2 separate regions of the Homo sapiens genome follow, and region 1 is linked to region 2. The links are contacts of gene promoters, found by promoter capture Hi-C in blood cells and fetal thymus (Javierre and others, 2016). All regions are on one chromosome and are shown on one strand. The core of a region is centred on a gene start or on the middle of the fragment in contact, and the rest is flanking DNA. Distances in the headings are between cores, read along the strand shown.

Region 1 (3,492 bases), core at 734-3,233, 960 kb before region 2:
AATCAACTACGTATCCATCAATGGATGACTAGACAAAGGAAATGTGGTGTATGAGAATGCATGCACACACATCCCATGGAATACTACTCAGCTATTAAAAAAAGAATAAAACCATGTCTTTGCAGCAACATGGATGGAATTGGAGGTCATTATCTCAAGTGAAGTAACTCAGAAAGTCAAACATTTAATGTTCTCATTTATTAGTGGAGGCTAAATGATGTGTGCACATGGACAGACAGAGTGGAATAACTGACACTGGAGACTACAAAAGGTGGGAGAATGGTGAGGGATGAAAAATCACTACTGCGTACAATGTACACCAGGTGATGGCTACAATAAAAGCCCAGACTTGGTTGGCGCGGTGGCTCATGCTTGTAATCCCAGAACTTTGGGAGGCTAAGGCAGGAGAACTGCCTGAGGCTAGAAGTCTGAGACCAACATGTGCAACACAGTGACCCCATCTCTATAAAAAAACCAAAAAATTAGCCAGGTGTGGCGGCAGGTGCCTCTAGTCCCAGCTATTTGGGAGGCTGAGGCAGGAGGACTGCTTGAGCCCAGGAAACTGAGACTGCAATAAGCCATTATCACCACTGTACCCCAGCCTGGGTGACAGAGCAAGACCCCGTGTCTTAAGGAAAAAAAAAAAAAGGCCCAGACTTTACTACTATGCCATATATCTATATAAGAAGACTACACTTGTATCCCTTAAATCTATTAAAACAACCTATTAAAAACAGACAGACACACAAGCCTATAGTGTTTGAGCTTAACCAGAATATATAAGGGATACCTGTAAAATATTTCCATACTGTAACAAAATAACATGTGACAAATAAGAAGAGAATATTTATAAAACAACAAGCAGCTCTGGAAAGTCACTCATTATATACATTAGTTTAAAAAAAAAAAACACCTAATACTTGTAGCAAGGAGGATACTATATACATAATTAATGTTTAAAATGTTCAACCGGCCAAGGCGGATTACTTGAGGTCAGGAGCTCGAGACCAGCCTGGCCAACATGGTGAAACCCCATCTCTACTAAATACACAAAAAATTATCTGGGTGTGGTGGCCCATGCCTGTAGTCCCAGCTACTTGGGAGGCTGAGGCACAAGAGAATCACTTGAACCTGGGGGGCGGAGGTTGCGTAAGCCGAGATCGCATTACTGCACTCCAGTCTGGGTGATAGAGCGAGACTCTGTCTCAAATAATACATAAATAAACAAACAAATAAATAAAATGTTCAATAATTATGGTCCATCCTAAATATCTGCTTTCCCTCCTAAAATTAGCAATTCAATAAATTTGGAGGGTTGGAAGTGATAAAGGCAGGGCCTGGGGTGGATGGACTATTAAAAAAAAAAAATTTGGAGGGGAAAAACCCAGTTCCTAAATGAGACATTTTTCTACCCCTTGATTAGTGTTAAACTCACCTTCCATGCATTCATTCACAGATTCGTAGTCAGCATAAGTTCTGCCTTCTGGCCTCTTGGTAGGCTGTACCAGCAAAATGGTGTGAGACTGCAGGGGAAAACATGATTTCAATATAAGTTTCTATTTGAGAAATTCATAGTATGATAAAAAAAAATCCCCATTTGTAATGCAATAATGATTGCTAGTTATTAAAATGTAATTAGAGAGGCCAGGCATGGCATCCCATGCCTATAATCCTCATCCTCTGGGAGGCTGAGAGGGGGAAAATCACTTGAGGCCAGAAGCTTGAGACCAACCTGGGCAACATAGCAAGACCCTGTCTCTACAAAAAAATAAAATTTGCCGGGTGCATGCCTGTAGTCCCAGCACTTTGGAAGTCTAAGGCAGGAGGATTCCTTGAGCCCAGGAGGCTGAGACTGCAGTGTGCCATGATCACACCATTGCATCGGAGAGTGAGGCCCTATCTCTTAAAAGAAAAAAAAAAGTCATTAGGATACTTTTCCCACAAAAATATTGATGTCTTAGTCTAAGTATAGTATCTAGCTGGATTCACAACTCTGCTGTACGGTCTCCCTAAGTCTCCCAGTCCTACCGTACTTACTGCCTACAAGTAATCAGTATAAGCTACCTTGCCCTCCTTTTCCTTTTCTATCTTTTCTTCCCAACTAAATTATAAACCTGCTTAGGTTTTCTGTCTCCAGTGGTCACTTTCCATCTTTAATGCTCTTAAGTCACTAATAAAAACTCAGATGGGCTGATGAAAGGAAACAAAAGGGGAAATAGTATAATAATCACAAGCATGGTTTCAACTTAAGCTTTTTTTCCAACCTCAGCGTAAGAGCAAAGTCACATTTTATCCAGGGGTTAGACTTAACATTAAAGCAGTAGATAAATTAGCAATATAAACATATCATAAGAATTACCCTTAAAAATCCATTAAACTATTCACCTAGTAGATGACTTGCCTTACTGGGCTTTCTCATACCAAAATCACATATTAGAATCACACAGAAAGTTAGGTCATCACACTATGAGAAATGTGAAATAATGCCCATAGCAGACAGACTTGTCTTCCACTTCGTGCTCACTGGGAAACATGTTTTTGTTAGTGATCAGTCACTAACAAATCAATCTCAGTGTTTTCTCAACGTGGGCTCTATTACCTTTTGGGTTGACTGATTCTTTGTTACAAATGTCCCTTGGGGAGCAAAAAATCTCATCCAGCTGAGAATTCACTGGTCTGTTGAAAATATGACCCATCCAATTTTCTGCTACATGTGTAAGGTTAATTAAATGCAAGTATGATGCAACTCCACTGTAAATCCAGTCCCAAATCAAACTATTCACCTTTTTCCTTCTCTTCTGCTGTACTAGTATTTTTCAGCCAAAAACCAGAAAACAAAAATTTCCTAACAGGAACCCTAAACTGTTTTGGAATAACATAATTTTTTTTTGGAGACAGTTTTGTTCCTGTTGCCCAGGCTGGAGCGCAAAGGCGCGATCTCAGCTCACCGCAACCTCTGCTTTCCGGGTTCAAGCGAATCTTCTGCTTCAGCCTCCCAAGTAGCTGGGATTACAGGCATGCACCACCATGCTCGGCTAATTTTGTCTTTTTAGTAGAGATGGGGTTTCTCCATGTTGGTCAGACTGGTCTTGAACTCCCGACCTCAGGTGATCTGCCTGCCTCGGCCTCCCAAAGTGCTGGGATTACAGGCGTGAGCCACCGCGCCTGGACAAAATGATCAGAATTTTTAACCATCAAATTGGAACAGAAATAGCTGAAGCCCAGACTTTCTGAATAAACAATGGAAAAATAGTACATTTAACATGACATGCAAAACCAAGGGTTATCATACCCTTCTCTCCCCATCAAGAACTAAACCACTTTGACTAAAAGTTTCAGAGGGTTTGACATAAAAACGGAACTTGGTGACAAGAGACGAAGGATTAACTCTCACCTGTAATAACCTGAGCAGTCAAAGCCTTTGTTAAATCGATTTAAAAGCCACAGAAAGCATCATATTAGATTATTTGTTATACAGAAGTCTTTGTAAGC
Region 2 (3,598 bases), core at 9-2,508:
TCCTGACCTAAAGCGATCCTCCTGTCTTGGCTTCCCCTAACACTGGGATTACAGGTGTGAGCCATCGTGCTTGGCCCAGATACTTCAAATGGGTGAATCTTTTGGAGATTCCTAAAATCCACATTTGATGAATGTGGATTTTTCAAAACTGTGTAAAATATCCATTACCTTTCTAAGATCACTTCTTTCCTTTAGTCTGCTTAAATGGAAAAGCTGGTAATTTCATCTGCGCCAACATTCATACAAAATAAAAATATAGTCTGTATTTAAAAGCAGCTTTTGTTCATATGCTTTAATTATTTCATTTACTAACACATCAAGGCTTGCTGAAGCAAAATAACTGGCCCGTAATCAAAAAGCAAATAAGAGTCATCTGGATTTCAACTCTGGTTGTCTTAAGCCAGCCTCAGCCTGCATTTCATGACATCCTTAGGGAACTCAGTGTGGATATGGATGAAACCATATAAACACGGAAGCTGTTTTCAACGTGCTTTAGAAATTATAACACAGCAATCATTCTGGCTACAATGTGGCAGGCACCGTACTCAACACTTTATTCACAAGGTGTTATTAGTTCATCACAACTCTAAGTATTAAGCTAATTCACAAACTAGAAAGATGAAACAGAAAGATACCAGGAATTCGTGCAGTTAAATGGAATACATCTAGTCCCAATGATCCACAGTATCGTCAAAACATAGCTAAGTTGGGGGCGAGGAAGCAAGCTTAGTAATCATCCAAACTTGGCTTAAAGTGTGGTTCTGACTGAATTCTCTGAGCTTCAATTTACTTAACTGTGAATCAAGGGTAGTAACAATGACCGCGTTCGACGATGGGAAAGACGCCACGCTCACAAGCAGACAGATCCTAGTACACCTGAAATCCAACCGGGAGTGGGGGACAGCGGCGGGGAAGTGGGGGTGTGGAAAAGACTGGTGGAAGAGCTTTTAGGAAAGCTCTCACCCCGTCGCTAGCTCCTTCCTAGCCCGAGTGCCAGCCCTTAACTTCACATTTTACAGATTCCCTCCCAGGTCTTGATCCTGCCAAGGAGGAGGGTCCCACCCCTTGCGGAAGATCCTCCTCACTCCACTCACCAACATGGGGACTCCATAGCCGAGAGTCTTGTTCTTGCGAAAAGCACGCATCACCGCGGGTGCAAACATGAGTGAACTCTTCCATCGGCTCAGAACTCCAAGCGGGCCTAGCGCAGACTCCCAAATCTCAGCAGCTCACGCTCTCACCAAGACGAGTACGTCCTTAACTCACTTCCTTTTCCTTGGTTATTTGGTGCTCGGTCCTTAGTGAATGGTTTCCGCTAGGCAAAAGCAATCGAGCCATCGTAACATACTTGTGCGTCCGCCCAGAAATGTGGGCGTCAGCGTTTTTGGTTCCGTAACGTCGGCGTGCAATTGGGATTTAGAGATTTGAATCGGTTTACGATCACCACCAAATTGATCTGGAAACCAGTACTTCCCACGTTCTGGGTCCTAACTAACGTCTGCTTAGAACACTCCCTTAGGCACATAGCCACTCGATAAAATCAGCTAAGGAAAAAAGTATTTTGAGGCCGGGCGCGGTGGCCTGGGTGGGTGGCCTGTAATCCCAGCACTTTGGGAGGCCGAGGCCGGTAGATCACCTGAGGTCAGGAGTTCTAGATCAGCCTGGTCAACATGGTAAAACCCCGTCTCTATTAAAAAAAAAAAATACAAAAATTAGCCGGGCGTGGTGGCAGGCGCCTGTAATCCCAGCTACTGGGGGGCCGAGGCAGGAGAATCGCTTGAACCCGGGAGGCGGAGGTTGCAATGAGCAGAGATCGCGCCATCGCACTCCAGCCTGGGGAACAAGAGCGAGACTTCGTCTCAAAAAGAAAAAAGAAAAAAAAGTATTTTGAAGCTGGTACTCCAGTCTTTATGGCTATTTGTGGGATGAGGAATTTGCCAGTTTAATGGAGACTTTTAAAAATAAATCGCTTTTGAAAGATTAGGTTGAAATGTAATCAGTGTAGTGTCTCATCAGTCATTACTGAACTTTTAATGCTAATGATTTTACTGTGAGATAACCTGTAATCTTTAGTCATTTATGAATGTCTATTTACCAATGATTCAGCAACCATACAGGCCACCTTTCAGCGTGTCTTTGAAAGGGTTCTAGGAACACAGATAAAAATATATGATCCTTACCTTAAAGACACTGGCGATTTCATGGGCACAGAAACAAACATGTGTGAAGTACTGGGATAGCTTAGGAAGCCGATCCCCCACGTGTCCCATTTACCAGAGTGAATCAGAGTGCAGGTGATGCGGAATATTATCTTCCATGCTATTCCTGAAATATTTCCATCTGTCCCTGCCTCTCTGTTACCACTGAAATGTTCCTTTTTTTAATTCCTTATCATCTTTTCACCTATTAAAGTAGCCTCTTAAGTGGTCTCCAGAAGAGAAGCTCCAGATCTACTGCAGGCTACTCCAGTGAAACTTATCCTTTTGGCTAAGATCAAGTGTAGTATCTGTTCTTAACAGTTTAATATTTGACACATTCTCTATCCAAGGAAAATATGTTAAATGGGTTTTTGAAGCAAGGAGATGGAATAGGAGTTTGCTCCACCACTCTACACATCAACCTGTATTTCAATACCTCCAGAAACCCAGGAACGGTGCATCTCTCCCATCTTATTTACTTCCTTTTGATATTTCAAAATTCATGCAGACCAGGCATGGTGGCTCATGCCTGTAATACCTGCAGTTTGGGAGGCTGAGGCAGGAGGATCATTTGAGCCCAGGAGTTCGAGACCAGCCTGAGCAACAAAGCAAGACCCCATCTTTACAAATAATAATAATAATAATAAATTAGCCAGGCATGGTGGGGTCTCAGCTACTTGGGAAGCTGAGGTGGGAAGATCACTTGAGCCCAGGAGGTCCAGGCTACAGTGAGCCGTGATCATGCCACTGCACTGCAGCCTGGGTGACACAGCTAGACCCTGTTTCAAAAATAAATAAATAAATCTCACGTGGCATCCAGGTTAGTTAAGCGTATCACATCTCCTACTTTCCCTAAGATCCTAGAAGCCAAAGGCGCTGCTCTAAAACTCTAGCGTTTTCCTACATCTTCACTACATAAAACATCAGCCTACTGGATACTACTCCATCAAAACCCGGCACCTAAGTAGTAGCTAATAATGGGTTAAATCGTATACATATATTCAAAATAATGCTAGAGTCGATAATCTTACACTTTTCAGATAAGGCATCTATCCAATTTAAGGCACTCTATGTCTTTAGTATCTTGTTTGTTCAATCACTCAAATAAGCATTTATTGAGAACCTTGAAATGGCCCTGAAGGAGTAACTGTGAACAGTAGGAATTACAGGTATGCCGGCAGATTGTCAGGGGACAAAATCTGTGACACTGAGGAATGTAAGCACCTATCAAATCATACTACATAGGTGGTAAATTTTACCAGCTATGCATAGCGCCCTTCTTAAGCATCACTACTGTATACTTCAGTTTTTCCATCTGTTAAATCGGAATGAGTGATATTTGTCATCAGTTTACGATTCTCACAAAAAGGGAACACAAAATTTCTTACCAGTATGGAATC

Evidence for each region. Contacts are between HindIII fragments. The CHiCAGO score rates a contact against its expected background, and 5 or more counts as called.
Region 1: a contact is called between a fragment that was not itself captured here and the fragment with the promoter of COX16 in region 2, in 2 of 17 cell types (naive CD4 T cells and non-activated CD4 T cells). The highest score is 6.9, in naive CD4 T cells.

Annotation. Positions count from the first base shown.
Region 1 is chr14:69,393,390-69,396,881 of GRCh38, forward strand. It overlaps ERH (ERH mRNA splicing and mitosis factor), which reads right to left. Exons shown (of 4, transcript NM_004450.3): 2 at 1,436-1,523. Among named protein-coding and RNA genes, the nearest start is that of ERH, 3.2 kb to the right of the region's middle. The HindIII fragment of the contact is 531 bases long and covers 1,719-2,249 here.
Region 2 is chr14:70,358,425-70,362,022 of GRCh38, forward strand. COX16 (cytochrome c oxidase assembly factor COX16) reads right to left here and starts at 1,259. Exons shown (of 4, transcript NM_016468.7): 1 at 1,095-1,259. The coding sequence starts at 1,163. The region is part of intron 3 of SYNJ2BP-COX16 (SYNJ2BP-COX16 readthrough); the gene reads right to left. It also overlaps the pseudogene RNU2-51P. RefSeq lists enhancers at 979-1,288, 1,749-1,838. The HindIII fragment of the contact is 4,146 bases long and covers 724-3,598 here.